Linked DNA regions of Homo sapiens: all the other regions are linked to region 2. The links are contacts of gene promoters, found by promoter capture Hi-C in blood cells and fetal thymus (Javierre and others, 2016). All regions are on one chromosome and are shown on one strand. Each heading gives the region's core, a stretch centred on a gene start or on the middle of the fragment in contact. The rest is flanking DNA. Distances are from core to core; before and after follow the strand shown.

Evidence for each region. The method cuts DNA at HindIII sites, captures the fragments that hold promoters and counts their contacts. A CHiCAGO score of 5 or more calls a contact.
Region 1: a contact is called between a fragment that was not itself captured here and the fragment with the promoter of GPR141 in region 2, in 1 of 17 cell types (megakaryocytes). The highest score is 5.9, in megakaryocytes.
Region 3: a fragment that was not itself captured here is called in contact with the fragment with the promoter of GPR141 in region 2 in 1 of 17 cell types (neutrophils); the score reaches 5.9 in neutrophils.

The regions. Positions count from the first base shown.
Region 1 is chr7:37,239,693-37,242,697 of GRCh38, forward strand. The region is part of intron 7 of ELMO1 (engulfment and cell motility 1); the gene reads right to left. Among named protein-coding and RNA genes, the nearest start is that of ELMO1, 210 kb to the right of the region's middle. The HindIII fragment of the contact is 1,205 bases long and covers 853-2,057 here.
Region 2 is chr7:37,681,959-37,685,336 of GRCh38, forward strand. GPR141 (G protein-coupled receptor 141) reads left to right here and starts at 1,808. Exons shown (of 3, transcript NM_001381946.1): 1 at 1,808-1,945. The HindIII fragment of the contact is 1,961 bases long and covers 106-2,066 here.
Region 3 is chr7:37,347,574-37,350,804 of GRCh38, forward strand. All of the region lies in intron 1 of ELMO1 (engulfment and cell motility 1), which reads right to left. Among named protein-coding and RNA genes, the nearest start is that of ELMO1, 100 kb to the right of the region's middle. The HindIII fragment of the contact is 4,249 bases long and covers 1-3,231 here.

The DNA.
Region 1 (3,005 bases), core at 205-2,704, 440 kb before region 2:
AAGGGGAAGAAGCAAATGCAGATCTGAAAATGTCTCAGCCAACTCAGTGGAACGCTGCAGAATAAACAGTGCCTCTTAGAGGAATCCCATAATGGGTAGAAATGACCAGGCTCTGGTATCCCCACCATGTTCAATAACTAAATGCTGCCTTTGGAGAGTACTGAAAGCTGCTATGAATCTGGAACATGTGATAACTGAAAACTATCAGGTAACTGCACTCTTCTTGGCTGACTAGCAAGTTCTTCCTGAAAGGAGATCAAAGCCATGCATTTCCATGACTAACACATTTGGTAAATCTGTTTTCCATGGCATTTGTCTATTTCATCCTTAATTTTCTTTCTTTTTTTTTTTCTTTTTTTTTTTTGAGACAGAGTCTCACTCTGTTGCCCAGGCTGAAGTGCAGTGGCATGATCTTGGCTCACTGCAACCTCCACCTCCCTAGCTCAAGCAATCCCCTAACTCAGCCTACCAAGTAGCTGGGACTACAGCCACAAGGCGTCACACCCAGCTAATTTTTGAATTTTGTTGTAGAGATAGGTTTTTGCCATGTTACCCAGGCTGGTCTTGAACTGCTGGGCTCAAGTGATCCACCTGCCTTGGCCTCCCCAAGTGCTAAAACATTAAATTTATTAATGTAAAATTATTTGCAATATTCTTTTATTTTATTTCTAATGTCAGTATGATTTGTAGTGATATTCCCTCTTTTATCCCTGGTGTTGATATTTGGATTTCTCTTTTCTTTTTTTTCCTAATAAATATTTGGCTTTAATTTTCTGTATTATTTGCCTGTTTCCTATTTCATTGGTTAGTATTCTTATTATTCTTTTTTTCTACTTAATTCACATTTTTTAAAGCTTCTTAAGTAAAAACTTAGACCATTTTTTTTTAAACCATCCTTCCTTTTCAACATAGATATTTAATGCTACAAATTTCCCCCTAAGCACAGCTTCAGCTGCATTCACAAATTTGGGTATGTTGTATTTTCATTACCATTCAGTTAAAATATTTCATAATTTCAACTGAGTTATTCCTTGACTCTTTGATAGTATGAAAGAGTGTTTTCTAATTTCCAAACATCCGAGGCTATTCGGCTATTTTATTGTTACCGACTTCTAATTTAATTTCCTTGTGATCAAAGAACATAATCTGTGTAATTTTAATCATTTGAAAATTCTTGAGCCTTACTATGGACTATTTTGATGAACATTCCATGTGCATTTGAAAATAATGTATATTTTGCTGTTATTGAGTCTGATGCTTTATAAATGACAATTAAGGCAAGACCTTTGATAGTGTTGATCAAATCATCTATATCCTTAACATTTTGCCTAGTTTTCATACCAGTTAGGAAAGACTGGTCTTAAAATCATCAACTATGCTGATGGGTTTGCCTCTTTTTCTCCTTAGTAGTCAGTGTTTGCTTCACGTATTTTAAAACTTTATTATACACATGTATAATAATTTTAAATGTGCATACACATTTAAAATTTTTAGGTGCATACACATTTAAAATAAAAAGGAGGATTAAATCTTCTTAATGAGGCGACCATTTTTATTACTAATTATCCCTCTTTAACTCTGATAACATATTGCTTTCAAGTCTTATCTTTCCTGATAATAAAACCATTCAGTTTTATTATTATTAGCATTTGCATGGTATATGTTTTTCCATCCTTTTATTTTCAACGTACATGTGCCCTTGTCTTTATAGTACATCTCTTATAAACAGCATAGAGCTGGGCCATGCTTTTTAAAAAATTTCATCTGACAATCTAAACCTTTTCATTGAGCTGCTTAGTCTATTTACATTTAATGTATTGATATGATTAGATTGAAGTCAACCAACTTGTTTTCTGTTTGTCTTAACTATATTTTATTCTACTTCTCTTTCCTTACCTTCTTTTGAATTAATCAAATTTTTTTAGTAGTCTGATTTAATCCCTCCTTTGTGTTTTGGCCTATGCTTCCTTGCACTGTTTTTAGTTGTGACTCTGTGTATTACAATGTGCACCATTAGTATATTAATGTCTACTTAAACGGAAGATTATACACTAGGAAGCTTGCTGTAGTGTAGTTGCTCTTATACCTCCATCCTTTGTGCTCTCATTGTCATACATATTGCATCAACATATGTCATAAACCCTACCAAACAGTATTATAATTTTTGCTTTATATAGTTACAGCCTTTTAAAGAAATTTAAAGGAAAGTAAAACTACATTTTGTCTTTTTATATTACCCACATATTTAGTTTCTGTTGTTCTTCATATTTTCCTACAGATCTGAGTATCTATCTACTATCATGTCTCTCCAGTGTGAAGAACTTGCTTCATATATCTCCATCATTATTTTCTTCTGTAATTATTTCCTCAAATATTTGCCTTCCCCATTCTTTTTCCTCTCCTTTTGGGACTCCAATTAAATGTATTTCAGATAACTTATTATCTCACAGGTCAAGTACTCATTATTCATTTTATCAACTTTTCAGATTAGGTAACTTACACTGATACATCTTCAAGGCTACTATCTCTTCTTCTGACATCTTCAACCTCATACAGTAAAATTTTCACTTTATTGTGCTTTTCAATTTTATAACTGACATCTGGTTATTTTTATGGTTTCAATTTCTCTATTAAGACTCCCCATCTGTGCATTCATTACACTCATACTTTTCTTTAGTTTTTAACATATTTATAAAAGTTTTTAAAAAACCTTCATCTGCTAATTCCAACATCTGGGTCATCTCAGGGCCAGTTTTTACTACCTACATTTTTTCTTAACTATAGGTCGTCTTTTCCTATTTCCTTACATACCTAGCACATTTTTATTATATACTGGATATTGTGAACAAAACACTGTCAATATTCAGATATCAGTTTTGTTCCTCTGAAGAGTGATAATTTTTGTTCTAGCAGGAAGTAAAAATCTAAATTCTGAAGTGAGTGACAGCTGACATCTTTGCTCAGATCTTTAAGTTGCTGTTTTTACCATTAAAGTGTGCATTTGC
Region 2 (3,378 bases), core at 558-3,057:
AGCTTTCTGAAGCCTTCAAACTTATAGGTTTTGCATTCTGTTCATTTTTGTAAGCTGCTCTCAGCAGGAGGGTTTGTCAGCAACAATCTTCTCTACAACTAATAAAGCTTGAAATATCTCTAGCATGAGTTATTTTGAAGCAGATAGCATTTTAACTCATATGGCAGAAAGAACGCACATCTGCTGAAATTGAAGAGTTTCCTGATGCAGAGGCCTTCTCTTCAAACTAAGAAACAAAGTTGGAAGCACTTAGAACATTATGTTTGGAGTAAGAAATGTGAATACTGATGAAAACAGAACTGCAAAAATTTCGCCTAAAATAATGAGTGTTTTAGCACTGTAAAGAATACCAGGAATCACCCCAAATTACCAAAGTTATCATTCTACTTAGGGACCTTAAAATAGAAAGAACCCAGGGCCAGTATCATTTTGATGCCTTTTAAAATTTCTTTTTGAAATAGTGAAATGTCACAATGGATTTTAAAAATAGGGGAATGTTGAAAATGTTGATATTTAATAAATTAGTACTTTTTAATTGACCAATTTCTATATAATATTAACATGCTGTCTACATCAGGAGTTCTCAACCCCTGGGCCACAGACCAGCAGTGGTTCGTGGCCTGTTAGGAACTGGGCTGTACAGAAGGAGCGGAGCAGTGCACGAGTGGGCCAGCAAAGTTTCGTCTATATTTACAGCTGCTCCCCATCACTTGCATTACTGCCTGAGCTCCACCTCCTGTTAGATCAGCAGCGGCATTAGATTCTCATGGGAGCATGAACCTTATTGTTGAATTGTCCATGCTAGGGATCTAGGTTGCAGTGTTCCTTATGAGAATCTAATGTCTGATGATCTATCATTGTCTTCCATCACCCCCAAATGGGACCATCTAGTTGCAGAAAAACAACCTCAGGGCTTCCACTGATTCTACATTATGATGAGTTGTATAATTATTTCATTATATATTATCATGTAATAACAATTGAAATAAAGTGCGCAATAAATGTAATGTGCTTGAATCATCCAGAAAACATCCCCACCCCTGTCTGTGGAAAAATTGTCTTCCATGAAACCTTTCCCTGGTGCCAAAAAAGGTTGGGGACCACCGATTTACATAATTAGAAAGTTTATAAAATCCTAATTTATAGAGTGGTCATCAAATGGTAGGAAAGTTCAAGCAGTTTGAGGAACTGATGTTTTTTTTTCTCAATACTTGCAGTGCATCTCTATGACTGTATGGGCAGCTTCTTCTGGAGATAATGTTGACAGTCTAAAAAGTTAAGCTGTGACGATTTACTCCCCTCCCCTGCCCCTATAGCACACTCTGATTTTAAATATTTTCTCTCTTAATTCTAATTAAATGACATAATTATAGTGCCATATCCCAGTCAATGCCATTTATCAGTGACAGCTAATTAACACAATTATAAAAGTGGGAGCCCTAAGTTACCAGTGAGGTATAGAGCAACTCTGGAAATTTTCTCCTTACTGAAAGGAAATATTACACATATTCCTTCACCAGAAGAACAATACACAGTTTACCTTCCCTTTTTGTTTTTGATAATACCACTTTGTTCCCCATTCTCTACAAAATTTAGTTTGAAGAACATTTTAAAAACTTGATTCATCGTAGTCATCAATCCTTCATAAATATTTCTTGACAATTGGCCTCTCTGTAGTTTGCAACCTGGACTACTCATGTTTAAGAGCTTGGTTTTTCAAGACTATTGTGTTTCAAATGGTTTTGAGGTTTTATGGTCTGTTGACATTCTGAGGAACTTAGAACACATTCACTTCCTTTTGCTTGGTGAGCTGTCCAGAGCCTTTGCAAATGCATGCAGAGCATGGAAATGACCCAGCTGCCCTGCTGTTGAAACAGAATCCTATTTGGAAGGCAGACATGTGGCCCATCTCTGTAGCCATCACTGAGAAATCTGGATTTTCAAGGTAAGTGCAGATGACTTAGGTTTGGGGAGACATGAATGAAAGTGCTATAGAAATAAAGCACACTTAATTTGTTGGCATAGTCCTAATTCAGAATCTTCAAATGGTTCTGCTCTAAAAAGCAAGCTTATTCTCTGACCACAACTCCTCCTTTATAGAAAGAATTGTTCTATTCTTACTGCTTAGGATATGCTGCTCTGAAAGTAAAACCTAATATTTATGGGTAAATGTGAACAAAAATGATTTCAGAATCTCTCTGTCAAAAAACCAGCTAAACATATCATAGAATTTTTTAGAGCAGTTGGCACTATTGAATTTGTGTATAATTATTCAAATGCTTATCTTTTAAGTGATGTCTTAATTTCCTTTTGTTATGAAAATCCTTTAACTCTATTACTGCATTATTTTCAGATAGAGTTTGAAACTATTCAGGCAGCCCTAGTCAATAGAAGGAAACAATCTGTAAGCAATCAAGTACTTAGAAATTTCTAAAAGAAGTATATTCAAAATAACATGTGAAATAATGGTAATTATAATTCTTTCCATCCCACTTTTAAAGTACTACTTAACAGGAAGGATCTGAAAATAACTTCTTAAATAAGATAAATAAAAAGAACAACATCTGTTCAAATAATTTTACTTTAAGTAAAATACTTTCTATACCAGTATTTTCTACTTCCAAGAAGTAATATTTTTCAAATATGTGGAATGAAATATAATGCAAAGTTTTTAAACAATAAGTCAGTAATGCCTAACCTGAATATAGGCATTTAATTTTGTTTCTTTTACAAATTTGTTATATGACTTTTGATAGGTCACTTAATTCTCTGGACTTCAGCGTTCTACATAACTGCACAATTACTTATCTGAGAAATTACTTATTAAGTACTCCAGAATTACATGTCTTTGTTTTCTGTTTTATTGGGTTTAAATCAGTTAATTAGGATTTTAATCAGTCAATAGAAGTAATGGGAAGACCAATGGATGAGGAATCAGGTGGTGTGAATTCTAGTCCTCTGTTTTCTAGTAATTGGCTGCATAATTTGGGGGAATATTGTCTAAGGATTCCAGACCAGGGGTTGGCAAACTTTTTCTACAAAAGCCTTGATAGTAAATATTTTAGGCTTTGCAAGCCAAGAGGTAGAACTGAGGCTAATATATTGGTACTTACATAACCATTTAAAACTATAAAAACCATTCGTAGCTCACAGGCTGTATAAAAACAAGAAGTGAGCCAGCTTTGGCTTAGGTGACACAATTTTCCAACTATTCTTCTAGCAATGATTTTCAACAATTATAAAATGGAAGTTGTAGACTGGATAAGAGATGCTCAGCTAAGGGAGTTCCTGGATGGTCTTTAGATTGATACACCAATCCTCTGAAATTGCATGCAAAAATGTAAGTGTGTGTTTTTCTTTTCTTCCTTTTGTGCGTGT
Region 3 (3,231 bases), core at 146-2,645, 330 kb before region 2:
TATAAGGGGAACACCCTCTCACTTGGTTCTCATTCTCTCCTGTCTGCCGCCATGTAAGAGCCTTCTGCCATGATGGTGAGGCCTCCCATCCACATGAAACTGAGTCCATGTAAACCCTTTTTTTCCTTTATAAATTACCCAATCTCCCGTATGTCTTTATTAGCAGCATGCAAACGGACTAATACAGGCGGTAAGCTAGCAAATCCTCTAGGCAGATTACCGATGATCAGGGCAACCTATCCCATCCTTGAACTGGACACAAGGCACATGGTCTCATCAGGCTCTCCAGGAAAGATCAGCACACAAGCCCAACTCCTCTTGGTGAGGCATAACTGAGAAGGAAATACATTCTAAAATCTTCAGCCAACAAAGTCAGCATCCTGGTGTCCTATGCTTCCCCCAGCATAACTCTGGGGTTACTAGACTCCCTTTGTCAACTTCTCCCCACTACATCTGGAGTACTCTAAGGGCAAGGTCCACATCGCATTCACAGTTACAGACTCAGGGCCGCGGCAGGCAGGCATTTTAATACATAGCTGTTGTATGAATGCATCCCCTCCTCAATGAACATCTCATTAGAGCTACCAGCAGTACTGAGCCTAGTGTTATCAAAATTACCAAAGTAGATAACCTAGTATTACTTAAATTGCCCAGTAAAATACCAGCTACAAGAAGTTGTGTAGACAGCCGGGTACAATAATTCTTATACAAACTAAAATTTAAGAACCATTAAAGGGAGAAACAAAAGGGAAGTCTAGGCAGGTGGCTAGACATTCTAATCATCATGCCTTCCAAAGTCACTATCAAATCCCAGGTGGTGGGTAAAGAATGGGCAGAGAATGCTATACCGTTCCTGCTTGCCTGCTGGCTTGACTTTATTCCATTCCAAAAATATGGGAATTGTTCCATGTTTAATATTAAGATTCTATCACCTCGATATGCATGTTAAGTGGTGTGTTTATAGTTGAGTGGATTAAATAAAGAGGAATCACTTCTTCTAGAGTTAGGTACTGAAGTCTGTATAGCAGTAACATCTGACTCTATAACCCGTGAACAAGCCCACTCTTCCACTAAATGTCTCCGTAGGTTGGGTGGCATTTTGAAGACGACAGACAGAAATCGCTTTGACTCCCACCTAGAAACTCATCTCTCTACACATTGTTCTATGCCCCAAGTTCAACATGCCTCTTGCTGTAGTCTCTTAAAGATCTGTTACATCTCTACAGGTTTTTCCATACAGCTTAATTAATTCTTTCGGTTCCACAAAGGTCCCAAATACCTGATCACTTTTTGTTGTTTTTTCTGAATTTCCCATATAGTTTTTTAGTTTTGGGTGACTGCAATGGCTTTGAACCTTTTAATGCTCTTTGTAGTCTTTCTGTTGCACAGTAAACCCTACTGAGAAAAAAATTAAGCCTGTATGGCCATTCCTGTAGAAGCTGTGTGTTGGGGAAACGAACACACTTGCCCTGGTGAACCGTGTGTCCCCTCCCCTACTGCACTCACAAGCCCAACAGATGGGCCAGTGGAGGCCAGGGCAGATCAATGGGAGAGAAACACCAAACAGCTGGAGAAACGATCTGCTTCCACTCCTCAGCCCCTTCCTTCCTCACCAGAAAAGCTGTCCTCTGTCCCGCTAAGTCATTATCTACTGATGATGGATAATGGGTTTATAATGATGATGGGGATAGTGGAAAGGGAGCTGTTCATCTCATATTTTTAATGTTGAGTTGTCTCTGATAGAAAAAGACATAGACCACATTTTCCCCTTGCATTAGGTTAGGCAGAAAGGGAAAGGGCTTCAGGAGGATCACCCACTGAAAGCAGCCCTTCCCTCTTGGCACTGCTGTCTTCCTGGAGCCCTCTAGTCTTCACTTTTTTTTTCTTTTTCTTTTTTTGAGATGAAGTCTCACTCTGTCACCCAGGCTGGAGTGCAGTGGCACAATCTCAGCTCACTGTAACCTCCGCCCCCCGGGTTCAAGTGATTCTCCTGCCTCAGCCTCCCGAGTAGTTGGGATTACAAGCAGGCACCACCTTGCGTGGCTAATTTTTGTATTTTTAGTAGAGATGGGGTTTCACCATGTTGGCCAGGCTGGTCTCGAACTCCTGACCTCAGGTGATCTGCCCACCTCGGCCTCCCCAAGTGCTGGGATTATAGGCGTGAGCCACCACACCTGGCCTAGTCTTCACTTTTGAGAACACCGCCCTGCATGGTACACTGAACCTCAGAAGGGGCCACCGAAATAGGCTTTGGGTAAAAGTTTTGCTCTTCTCTTCTTTGTGCTACCATCCTTCTTATGCCAAACAGACTGAAATTGTCTCAATACCTTTAGTGTCTAGGTCAAGGAATACATGAAGTCGGTGGTGTGGTCAGCTGACATTATTCAGGATGTATGAGTGTCCAGGTTTGCTGAAGCCAGTCTTTGTTTCCCATGGGAGCAGCAGTGGTGGGCACATGTCCCCCCACCTGCCCTACACTGGAGGGTCTGGATGGATGGGTATATGGTGGGGGTGTCATTTCAGGTTCCCGTATCAGGGACCTGATGGCCATTCTGAAGACAGCCCGGGGCCTAAGAGGAAGTTTGTGGCTTCAGAAATGAGGGAACACGGTGTGTTCAGAACAGAACATGCAAGCACTCAGCAGAAAGAGAATAAACAGAGAATGGAATCCAGTGTGGAGGCTCAGTATTTCATTTTCTGTACACGCTAGCCATGTATGCTAATCTCAGCAACAATTCAGCCCATTTACTTGACAGGTGGGGAAATGTGCTATTAGCTACGGTTGGCTTGCAATATAATGGAAACTTGCAGAGAAAAGTCTTTGCTTTCCCAGTGTCTGGCATTGACATCATGAAGGCTAGGGGACAGCTGCCAGAAGGAGTGGCAGACAGGCGCCTAGAGCAGGCATGGGGCTGGGCACCGTGGACACGCACTTTACTCACTCTTCTTCACAGCCCTGAGTGACAGGTGTTATTATTTGCAGTAAATTAATGAAGATACTAAATCTTAACTAGTTTAAATGACTTCCTTCAAATCCTTAAATCCTCTCAGGTTGATAGAGGCCTCTTTAGTATGAGAACTGTTACAGGTGAATTGTGTCCCCCTCAAAATTTGTATGTTCAAATCCTAACCCCCAGTAGCTCAGAATGTAGCTGTATTTGGAGACAGGACCTCGAAAGAAGTAAGTTAAAATTAGGTCTTCAGGCCGGGCCCTAATACAGCATGTTTGTC